Linked DNA regions of Homo sapiens: region 2 is linked to region 1. The links are contacts of gene promoters, found by promoter capture Hi-C in human tissues and cell types (Jung and others, 2019). All regions are on one chromosome and are shown on one strand. Each heading gives the region's core, a stretch centred on a gene start or on the middle of the fragment in contact. The rest is flanking DNA. Distances are from core to core; before and after follow the strand shown. Region 1 holds the start of WNK2 (WNK lysine deficient protein kinase 2). Region 2 overlaps WNK2 (WNK lysine deficient protein kinase 2).

The links. The method cuts DNA at HindIII sites, captures the fragments that hold promoters and counts their contacts. A contact is called where the count stands out against the background at its distance.
Region 2: a contact is called between a fragment that was not itself captured here and the fragment with the promoter of WNK2 in region 1, in 1 of the 25 tissues and cell types used here (bladder).

Annotation. Positions count from the first base shown.
Region 1 is chr9:93,180,815-93,186,182 of GRCh38, forward strand. WNK2 (WNK lysine deficient protein kinase 2) reads left to right here and starts at 3,325. Exons shown (of 30, transcript NM_006648.4): 1 at 3,325-3,571; 2 at 4,114-4,796. The coding sequence starts at 4,116. RefSeq lists an enhancer at 5,363-5,368. The HindIII fragment of the contact is 13,924 bases long and covers 1-5,368 here.
Region 2 is chr9:93,234,170-93,240,175 of GRCh38, forward strand. It overlaps WNK2 (WNK lysine deficient protein kinase 2), which reads left to right. Exons shown (of 30, transcript NM_006648.4): 5 at 639-796; 6 at 4,064-4,152; 7 at 5,588-5,807. Among named protein-coding and RNA genes, the nearest start is that of WNK2, 53 kb to the left of the region's middle. RefSeq lists an enhancer at 3,883-4,383. The HindIII fragment of the contact is 3,742 bases long and covers 1,044-4,785 here.

The DNA.
Region 1 (5,368 bases), core at 2,075-4,574:
TATTCTCCCCATGGTGTGACCCGGGGGGCACTCAGGCAAGTGGCCTGGCCACACTGGACCTGAGCACTAGATAGGTTGCCTGACTCCACTCAGAGGCAGAACCTGCCCCACGGGGCAATTGTGGACTGAGCTCCAGCTGGGCATGGCTAGACCCTGCTCTTCCTTCTAGCCAGTGACCCTCAATGGGCCCTGATGTGAGCAGAGGCAGTGGAGCTAGCCCCATCTCCTTTCCTCCCTTCTTTCATGAGCATTTGTTGAATGCCTTTTGTTGCCAAGACTGTTGAGCATGACCATTATGCCCATCTCACAGATGAGCAAACTGAAACCATGGTCCTGTTGCTTGCTGAGGCCCAGCTCCTGGAACTGCATCTGCATGGAGCAGGTGTGTGCCTGCACGTGCCTACTGGCTGGGTAGGCTGGAGCATAGCCTGGACTTGGGAGAAACTTTTTTCACCAAAGGGGCTCCCTGGCATTGTGGAAGCTAAGGTGATAGCTGTGGGTAGAGGTCACTGTCTCCACTCTGAGGCCTTGAGAAAGTTACTTAAAGTTGAAAAATCTCTGGGCAAGACCTCAATGTACTCATCTGTTCTAAACATCGAAGACAAATGCTGCCCCGTAATCCCAGCACTTTGGGAGGCTGAGGTGGTTGGATCACTTGAGGTCAGGAGTCCGATACCAGCCCGGCCAACATGGTGAAACCTCATCTCTACTAAAAATACAAAATTAGCTGGGCGTGGTGGTGGGCGCCTGTAATCCCAGCTACTCAGGAGGCTGAGGCAGGAGAATTGCTTGATCCTGGGAGGCAGAGGTTGCAGTGAGCTGAGCTGAGATCCCGTCACTGCACTCCAGCCTGGGCAACAAAGTGAAACTCCATCTCAAAAAAACAAAAACAAAAGCAGAAAACAAAAAACAAACCTCCAAAAGACAAATGCTGGCATCATGACCCTGGATCATGCAGCCTCAGGACACCCAGTAAAGCAGACTACAGTATTTATACTCCCCGTCTTAGCAGCAGGGAGATGGAAGCTCAGAGATATCCAGTGACCTGCCAAAGGGCATATAGCCAGTGCTGTGAAGTCCTGACTTCCAAGGTCTGTCCAAGGATCCCTCAGGCTCCATCTGCCAGGATCCCAGGAGCTGCTCCTGAGCCCAGCCTGAGATTCCTTGCAGAGGAAACTGTGACCTGTCCACTACTGACTTAGCTGTGTACCCTAATGGTCATGGGTTGGCAGAGAGAATGAGCTCTCCACCATGGGAGGTGTGTAAGCAGAGATGCGTGAATTCACCCCAAGGGCTCAGAGAGCACACAGTACTCTCTCAGGGACAGGCTGTCCCCCACTCCCCACAGCCTGGGCTGCTCCCTGCTGATTTGTGGGTGTAGCCATCCTTTCCCACGCATGTGTACAAGTGTGGGTGGGCAGCAGCCATGGGTGCTGATGAACCTTCTCCGATGCTGGCAGGTATTTTGCCCACACACTGCCAGTGTGGCCTGTTGGGAGCAGGAGGAGGCCAGATAGGTGTGTGCTGGTCTCAGAACACGCTTAGCTCTGTCCCATCCTGGTTTTCCCTTGGATAGGCTTGAACACACCCATCATGAACAGGTCTGTGGACTTGGTGCCCTTCCTAGATTGACTGAATCTACAAGGAATTGGCAGCCTTTTAAGGTGGGCAAGTCAGGATGATCAGCCCACTCTGCAGGGCCAGATACTGAGGCTCAGGAAGGACCAGGACTTGCCCAAGTTCACTCAGCTGGTTAGGGGCAAGGTTGGGGGGTCTTTAGCCTCCAAAGGGAAGACAGAAAAGATCCTTTTCCACCCCTGACCTCTACCTGGAAGACTCCTGCCCCAGGAGATGCAACTTAGATCCCTGTCCCTCAGGCCTCTCTGTCCTGCAGAGCTGGCGTCTGCTGTTTGGCCTCCTCCTCGTGTGAGCTCTGGGCTCATGCCAGCGGACTTGAGCCCCGGAATGAATGCCTGTCTCACACGGTAGATTAGATTATATAAATAACAGGCAAGTGCCAAATGCATAGCCCTACACCTAGCACACTATTTAACCACTGGCTCTCTGGGGAGAAAAGTCCTGATTTGAGGTGTTTGCCAATTTCCGCAGTGTAAATACTCCCAGCATTGCTGACTTCAGGCTACAGGGTGGCATTGCTGAACCCAGAGCTGGGAAGGGATGTTCACTGTTGCCCCTCACAAATTAGTTTCAGCCAGTGCCAGTGCCCAGCGGGGCTCCAGGAAGTCCTGCTTCTCTGGGTAACAGTTGGCCTGGCATATTCTTCCCTCTACATTGTGAAGGTGAGATATCGCCTCTGCTGGCTTTTATGCCACATGAGTTATTTTGTGCCAGGGGCTCCAAGGCCTACAGGCCCACAAGCATCTTTTCATCTCTGGAAGTGTGTGTGTATCTGATGGGGGTGCCAGCCCAGTGGGATGGGGACTGAGATGAGAATACTCTGGTATCTCCCTTGTGCCTCAGTTTCCTCACCTAGGATCATGGAGGCTGGGGTAAGGGTGAAGTGTTAGCTCAGGGCATTGCCTGGAGCAGGGCTCAGAACTTAGCAGTATGGTTACTGACACAGGTCACCTGCTGCATTAGGGCCAGAGACGCCCAAGAGAGGGCTTGTCCGTGGGGGTCTAGAGGAGGAAGGAGCTAGAGATCATGGAAGACTTCTCGGGAGAGGTGGCATCTGGCAGAGGTGGGAAGGAAGAACACTTTGGGTCAAGGGGCTTCTGGAAGCCTCTCCATATCCCATCCAAGGCATTCCAGCTCAGCTTCGGTCTTGAAAGTTCTGGGATTTAGAGCATATAACTTCTGCCTTTGGCGCCTCAGTTTGCTCTAGACTGTGAAATGGGCATAATGATCACCAGTGCCTCCCTGGGTGATGATGAGGTCCTCATGGTTCCTGGTGGTGAAGTGAGGGCAGGAAAGGACACGCTGAGCCCCACCAGGCTTAGCCCCAGGCTGGGCTCCCGAGGGCGGCGGTACCCCTGGTCCTTTTCTTCCTAGCCTGCCCATTCTGTCCTGGCACAGGGCCTTGAGGTCTAGCGCGCCGGGCTGCGGCGTGCTGAGGCGTTGAGCCTGCTGCCTCCTCTCAGGAAGAAACGGGGTCCTCCGCAGCTGACAGCCCTGCGGGGCGTTCCAAAGAACTTCAGAGGACAGGAGCGCTACCTCGAGCAAAGAACCGCGGGTGGGAGCCCAGGTAGCCGGCCCGCAGGTGGCCGCGCGCGCCTGCCAGTCAGCCAGCCCGTCCGCAGCCAGGTGGGCGTGCCAGGCCCAGCCCCCTGCGCCGGTCCGGGGCGGGGCGAACGGAGCCCCGCCCTCCCCGCGCGCCGGGTCGGAGCCGGTGCGGGAGCGGAGCCGCGCGAAGCCGGCAGGAGCACGCGGGAGCGCGGCCCCGCAGTGGCCCGGCCCGAGAGAGCAGCGCGCAGGAGCTGGAGCGGCGCCACGGCCCCCACCCCAGCGCGGACCTCGCCCGGAACTCGGACCCCGTCCTCGAAGCGTGATCTCTCCCGCCTCGCACGCCCTGGCCGCCGGGCCGCGGGCATGGACGGCGTCCGCTCGCCCTGTGAGTGCCGAGCCTCCCCTCAACGCCGCTCGCCGCCTTTGTGTGCGCGCCGCGGCGCTGCAGCCCCCTCCCCGCGCGCCCCTCCCGCGCCCCGGGCCCGCGTCCTTTGTGGAGCCGCCGCCGGGCCACTGCCTTCCTCCCACCCCCGGGCTTCCCTATCCCCTTTACAGCTGCCTCCGGGACAGCCTAGCAGAACCCTCCTGGGCCAGGGCTGGGCAGGGCGCGAGATCCCTCTGCCGGCCTCCGGGGCCCTCAGGGACACCCTAGCAGGTCCTCTCTCCCAGGGTTCCAGGGACACCACAGGCCCGTCCCTCTCCGCAGCCTGGGGCTGAGCAGGGCACGGACCCCTCCTCCCCAACCCAAGCCTCTGGTCCCGTCTGCAGCCCCCCTTTCCCAGGGCCCCCAGAGACGGCCCCCGCAGGCTCTCTCCGCGGCCGGGGCTGGGCAGGTTGCGGGCTTAGGGCGGCGTTGTCTCATCCGGCGGCCTGGGCAGGTGCGGCAGGGCCGGCGCTCACGCGGGCCTGTGTGTCCTTGGCCCACAGAGATGGACGGCGATGGCGGCCGCCGAGACGTCCCCGGCACGCTGATGGAGCCCGGGCGCGGCGCGGGGCCCGCGGGCATGGCGGAGCCTCGGGCGAAGGCGGCGCGGCCGGGGCCCCAGCGCTTTCTGCGGCGCAGCGTGGTAGAGTCGGACCAGGAGGAGCCGCCGGGCTTGGAGGCAGCCGAGGCGCCGGGCCCGCAGCCCCCGCAGCCCCTGCAGCGCCGGGTGCTTCTGCTCTGCAAGACGCGCCGCCTCATCGCGGAGCGCGCCCGCGGACGCCCCGCCGCCCCCGCGCCCGCAGCGCTGGTAGCGCAGCCGGGAGCCCCCGGAGCCCCCGCGGACGCCGGCCCCGAGCCCGTGGGCACGCAGGAGCCCGGCCCGGACCCCATCGCAGCCGCTGTCGAAACCGCGCCTGCCCCCGACGGCGGCCCCAGGGAGGAGGCGGCGGCGACCGTGAGGAAGGAGGATGAGGGGGCGGCCGAGGCGAAGCCTGAGCCCGGGCGCACTCGCCGGGACGAGCCCGAAGAGGAGGAGGACGACGAGGACGACCTCAAGGCCGTGGCCACCTCTCTGGACGGCCGCTTCCTCAAGTTCGACATCGAGCTGGGCCGCGGTTCCTTCAAGACGGTCTACAAGGGGCTGGACACGGAGACCTGGGTGGAGGTGGCCTGGTGTGAGCTGCAGGTGAGGGTGCCCCAGCCCGCAGGGGGCTTTCCGCAGGGTCTGTCCGCGAGTGCGTCCTTGGGCCTGTCCTTGCTCCTGCGCCTGGCCTTAAGAAGCCCTGGGGGCGGCGGGGCTCCATGTGTGTCACCCTCTGTGTGGATGGCTGGCAGGATGCATACCAGGTGTGCGGACGGCATGTGGGGCCTGGCTGTGTCCGTGCGCAGGTTGCGGTTTGTGAGTCAGCTGGTGGCGAGGGCAGGCCTCTGTTGTGCGTTTGGTGTAAGTGTGCACGCTGTGGGCGTAGAGAGGGTCCTGGAGAGTGGGCCTCGGAGGCTGTGTCTCTTAGGCTGCTGCTTCTCCAGTCCCGATGACCTACTTTAATGACCCAGGGAGTCTGGACTGTTGTGTCTTTGCAAAACAGTGTGGAGGCTTCAAGGCCCGGTGTGTGCAGTCAGAGTGTTTTGGGGGCTCTGGGCTGCCCATAAATTAGTACTTTCCTGTGTCCAGCAAGCCGTGGCTGCCCCAGCAGGGATACCTGCAGAGACTTCTTCTGACCCAGGGCCTGTGACCCAGAGGTGGTGCCTGGTAGAGCT
Region 2 (6,006 bases), core at 1,665-4,164, 53 kb after region 1:
GCATCTCTTGTGTTTAGGAGCCACATACAGTTCCCATCTTAGCAACTCTGTGGTTCTGTCAGGTGGGTACCATTTTCTACCCCACCCTCATTCAGGGACACTGTCTTCAGTGATGCTGACTGTTGTACATGCTGCGTGACACTTGTAGGGGTGGGCTGAGTGTACCCAGCCTTTCCCCACTTTGGGACATTTAGGGGTTTTGTGGCTTTAGGTAGCTCCGTAGCAACCCAAGTTCTTTCTGCTCCAGGGTTTCTGAACGTGGCTGCGGCCGAGCCTGTGGCAGGATCATAGTGTCCACAGGCGAGGGCGTACTCAGGGTTTTGCCTCCTTCCAGGCTCGGACCCCGTCCCCTGGGAAGTCATAGTCTCCCAGCTTATGAGCAGGGGATGGCTCTGTCACCTGATTTCTAACCCTGGACTCCTGTGGTTCCAGGTGGAACTTTTGGAACCCTGTCTGTAAAGCACACCTGTGTCCCAAGTGAGGGGCAGGGCTGGCCCTGGGGTCCAGGTGTTCTGAGTGTGCCATGGGATGTGGAGGGGACATGGGGTTCTGGGCAGCCAAAGCTCCCGGGACACTGGCTCCAGCTCTTCCTGGGCCCGTGGCCAGCTGACAGCTGCGTCTGTTGCTTCCGGGCACAGGTACTCCCGAGTTCATGGCGCCCGAGATGTACGAGGAGCACTACGATGAGTCCGTGGACGTCTATGCCTTTGGGATGTGCATGCTGGAGATGGCCACCTCGGAGTACCCCTACTCGGAGTGCCAGAATGCGGCCCAGATCTACCGCAAGGTCACCTGTGTGAGTCCACCTGGCCCCTTGGTTAATTAATAAGGACACAGAGGCCTTGGGCCGTACCCTGGGCTGGGCTCCATGTGGCTCTGTAAAGCCATCCTGGCAGCTGTGTAAGGAGCTTGGCCATTTTGCAGAGGGGGAAACTGAGGAGATTGGCCATTTTACAGAGGGGGAAACTGAGGCTTAGTAGCGGGGTGGTTACTCAAGGTCTCCTACCTGAAGGGATGGTGGTGCATGGGGTGCTGTGGGCAGTGCTTACCCATGGAGGCTGTCGCTCTCACAGCAGGGATGGTGGGGAGACTGAGGCTCAGAGAGGCTGGAGCTTCACCATAGCCCCCTGCCTGGAGGCGTGCCTAGGCCACCCATCCCCAGTGCTCACACTCTGGGCCGCCCATGGCTGCCTGCTTTCCTATCTTCTTCATTTTGAAACAATGGTTTGATTTCTTTTTCAGCTAAACCAGTCACTCCTACACCAAGTGTGTCTCTAGGCAGTCGTCAGCGCCAGGCAGCTGGGAACGTTAATCCCTGTTTTGCTGTCGCTGTGATTTTTTTCTTTAATCGGACGGCTTCAGCTGCATAAACAGATCTGTCTTGTCCTCCCTCTGTGGTGGCCCCACTGGGTGGAGGGAATGCAAACAGAACATCTGGAAATGGAATGGCCAGGCCAAGGCTTTCTGTGCCTGTTTTCTGCACCACCCGTCTTGTTGTGAAGCCCAGGGGCCTGCAGAGCTGTCCCTGACATGCGGCGTCTGCACTGAGGGCCCAGGCTGCCCTGATCCCTGCAGTCCCTGCTGTCTCCACATGCCACCTGACTGGGTGGGGCCGCGCTGCCCCTCAGTGCTGCTCTGCGGGGCCATGGCTGCTTCTGCAGGTGCACCAGGGGCTGTGGTCCTCAGCAGCTGCACAGCCTCACTCTGACCCATCCCTCCATCCCGAGCCCTCCTTGCAGATTACCTGCATTTCTGTCCCTTGGTTGTTGTAAATCATCGGTCACTTGGTTGTTCTGAGCCCCTCCTGTGTGCCCCTGAGGAAGTGGGAGGGCAGACAGAGTCCTTGACTCACCTGTGGGCCTGGGTCAGAAACTTCACAGACAGGTGCACAGTTTTCCGTGGGTACTGGAAGGAGTGTCAGGACCTGCTGGCTGTGTGCAGCGGCCCTCCAGGGAGGCAGGGATGGTCTGCAGCAGGAGGAAGTGGGGCGCTCCAGAGATTAAGAGCTCCATTTGCCAGGCCTTGGGGTGCTGGTGTGGGATGGGAGGGCCCCTGGGTTCACTGTGGAGGGTGGATGGTGGTCTGTCCTGAAGCTGTCCCAGGGGCTGGTGGTGCTCCTCGACCCTGGGGGTGTACACTACTGGGCAGAGCCCTTAGGTTCTTCACTCCTGTGTCTGCCCCAGGCTGGGGGCTCCAGCACCCAGGGCAGGTGGGCGTGCCCCCACCCTCCTCCCTGACCTTGGGAAAATTTATGCTTTATGTTCTCTATATTAAGAGTCAGGTGAAGCTTTTGAAGGCTAAATCGTGTTGAAGGAGAAAGAACGTGATAGTTGGTACCCTCATTGTGTTTAAAATTTTTTAAAATTAGTTGCTCATACACCGTCTTACTCCACTTCCAACACAAAACAACCTAGCAGATTGCAAGCAGCACCTGGCCCCGCCCTGCTGCTTCTGAGTCCGGTTGCAGGGCTTGCCCTCTGCTCCCTTCATGCACAGCCATCAGCTGGGTGAGGAGCCACTGTCCCTCAGGCTGCCACCCGCACCCCCCCGCAACAAAGCCGCATGGCCTGGCCCTTGGCCAGCAGCAGTGACCACAAATAGTGCTCCTGCACCCTCAAGGAGGAGGTGTGGGGAGGAAGCCCAGGTGTGGTTAGAAAGGCCCGGCTCTGTAGGAGGCATCCCATCCACCGCATCATGGCGCTGCCTCTACTAGCCTCCTGGAACAGGGGCCCTCGTGGCCCTACTTGGGAGGCTCGGTGAAGCTCTGATCAACACCTTTCCAGAGACTGACTGCTGCATTTGAGGTGTTAACCCCAGTATCAAATTCTGCAGCTGAGGTGGAGGTGTGCAGTGTGTTGTGGCCGGGGTGATGGTGGCTTTGACAGAAGTAGGGTGACCCAAGAAGGTTCTGAATGGTAGGAGACCAGGCTCCTGGCTTCAAGCAGTGGGGAGGGGAGATTTGGAAGGGAATTGCAGCGGTTTCACAGAATTCTTCAATTTATTCCCAGCTCGGCTTTATCTCGCTTCATCTATGGGCTTAGAGTTTCCATCAAAGTTGTGAAATTTTCAGCCATTATTTCTTCAAGTCTTTTTTTATGTCCCCTTATCTTTTTTGGGATTCCAGTTTTATGAATGTCATGTGCATATGTGACCTTGGTAGCATTTCAGATTCTGAAATGAGCAGAATAGAGCCTCAGTGACCATCTTTCTCTGCTGCATCACATCTTCAGGTTCACTCGTCTTTTTTCTGCAGTGTGTAATCTGCTGTCAGTCTGCTGCGGTGAAGTGTTCGATTCAGATGGGCTTTTCATCTCGAGTTCTATTTGGTTCTGTTTTTATCTCTCATTTTTTATGTTCATTTTCCTTTACTGCTTGTATGTATCTGTAAAGAGTTTTAACCTGCTTGCCTACAAGTTGCAGCCCCTCTCACTTGTAGGTCTCTTTCTGTTGGCTGGCTTTTCTGCAAGGTCGTGGGTCACATTTTCTTGCATCTCAGCATTTCTAGTAATTTTTGATTGGATGCTGTACATTGTACACATCCTGACCTGTGTGAACTCTGTGAATTGCCCTGCCTGCAGCTCCCTGTGGTTCTTCACCCGGCCCTGTGGCATTGACAATGCACATGTGGTTTTGTGGTCTGGTCCTCAGCAAAGGCTGGAGGGGACCAAGGTGCAGATACTTGGGGCTCTTTTTTTTTTTTTTGCTGTATGTTCTCTTCTTTCTGGAACTCTGCCTGTGGCCTCCTCAGCCTTCCTGAACTCAGCTCTACCCCTCAACTCAGTGGGGCCACAGGGCTCTGCTGGTTTACGGTGCCTTGTCTGGGAACTGCTCTGGGCAGTGAGCTGGGGCCATGGGAGATTGTGTCCCTTTCTCCCAGAGCCCGCATTTGGCTCTGCCCTGTCATCCGTTTCACATATTTTGCCCAGTTTTCTAGTAGTTTGTGCAGGTTAAGTCCAGTGCCCGTGTCCTGCCGTGGCTGGGAGTGGGAGTTCCTCCCACTGTGGTGGAGGCCTCGCCTTCCGGCAGCCGATCGGGTCAGGTAACTCTGCTCTCTCCCTGTCAGGGTATCAAGCCGGCCAGCTTTGAGAAAGTGCACGATCCTGAAATCAAGGAGATTATTGGGGAGTGTATCTGCAAAAACAAGGAGGAAAGGTGAGTTCCCCTGAAGGGCTGGGTTCTGGGGTCCATCTCCAGCTGAACTCATTCCAGCTTGCATTGAGAGCTGTGTTCTTGATGAGGGGACTTCAAGACAGGCAGGCTCAGGCCAGGGTGTCTGGGGCACGTTAGCAGGGGCTGGTGAGCATGTCGGCCCTGAGTGCGTGTGGGTGACACCAGGCCAGGAGGCCAGGCCCTCACGTCCTTGTTGGCCATCTGGAAACCCTCTCCTTGGCTTTGGGGACAGCCCCCTCCTTGGCTTTGAGGACAGTCCTGTCCTTGGCTGACTGCTCCTCCAGGACCCAGCCTGTAGCATCTGAGCACCTGGGGCTTCTCTCCAGCCTCTCTGCTCCTCTCTGCATGACTCCCATGCCTTGAAGAACATCCCCACGCCAGTGGCTCTAGGTGTGGGCCTCCATTTGGAGCCCTGACGTGTATTTCATGGACTGGGTTGTTTGGCCCTTCTCAAAAATAGCAGGCCTGGAACCGCTCCACAAAGCCGGCTCCCCACCTCCAAGCAGGGCCTGTCCTTCCCTGTTGGTCAGGTGGAAGGCTGGGGGTGCTTCCTCAGCCTTCCCTCCCCCTCACACTGGAGTACACCCACCATCTGACGTGACACCCCTCAGCAGTAAGCAGGGATGGATTGTGGATACTCGAAACTACACAGGTGACTCTGGAGCACACACAGAGGAAGCCAGGCCCCAAAGAGTGCGTGCTGTGTGGTTCCATTTATAGGGTAAAGGGGGTTATAGGTTAGTGGTTAGGGAGGCTTCTTTGGGTGGCCAAGCCCTGCAGAGCCCCGAAGTGGTCACCATGGCAACACCCTGTGGCCCGCCCTCCCGGATCCCTGCAAAGAGCCTTCGAGGCTGGGTCTGGCTGGGGCCCCCCCAGTTCTGCAGGTCCTCACTCTCCTCCAGCTCACCCTCTGCTCTGCTCTCTGTCATCTGGCCAGCATCCTGAAGGAAGCCCCCTTGAAAAGGTCACTGCTTCATGGCACTGGGCACAGGGAGCTCAGAGCGTGGGGGGCTCCGCCTCTGTGTCCATTTTAGACCTACCCAGGACTAAACACTAAAATGTTTCAGTTGTGTCTTCTGACAATTGAAAGCTGGCTAGCACATCCACAGGGGCTGTATTTGCATAATGGGAGGCCTAATGTTTTTCCAAATCCTCTTTTGTATCATTGAATCTTTTATGAGCATGTTTTTTTTTTTTATAATGAGGGGGAATAAAGGAAGTCTTAAAACACTATGTGTTAATAGTAAGACTGGATTCACTGAAATCTTTTCTTTACCCCTGGGAGTGCTGAGACATGAGGCCTGGCCTCAGGCTCCTGCAGGTGTGCCTGTCCTTGTCCTGGTGCGCATGGACACAGGAGCCTGGGCATGGAGGCCCTGGCGCCCGTGCCCCTGCCTGTCAGCTGCTCTCCCTCCAGGTACGAGATCAAAGACCTGCTGAGCCACGCCTTCTTCGCAGAGGACACAGGCGTGAGGGTGGAGCTCGCGGAGGAGGACCACGGCAGGAAGTCCACCATCGCCCTGAGGCTCTGGGTGGAAGACCCCAAGAAACTGAAGGGAAAGCCCAAGGACAATGGAGCCATAGAGTTCACCTTCGACCTGGAGAAGGAGACGCCGGATGAGGTGGCCCAAGAGATGGTAAGCAGGACTCAGATGGGGTGAGGTGGGTGCAGGTGTTGGCAGCTCGTGGTTTCCAAGGATGAGAACAAAAGTGGGCTGAGGGGGCTTGCTCCGGAGGGGACTGCAAGGCCAGTGGGTGTGGCGGTGCCATCCAGGCAGGTGTGGGCAGCTGAGGTCTCACAGCCTGGCCACGTCTGCCTAGGGTCTGCACAGGGGT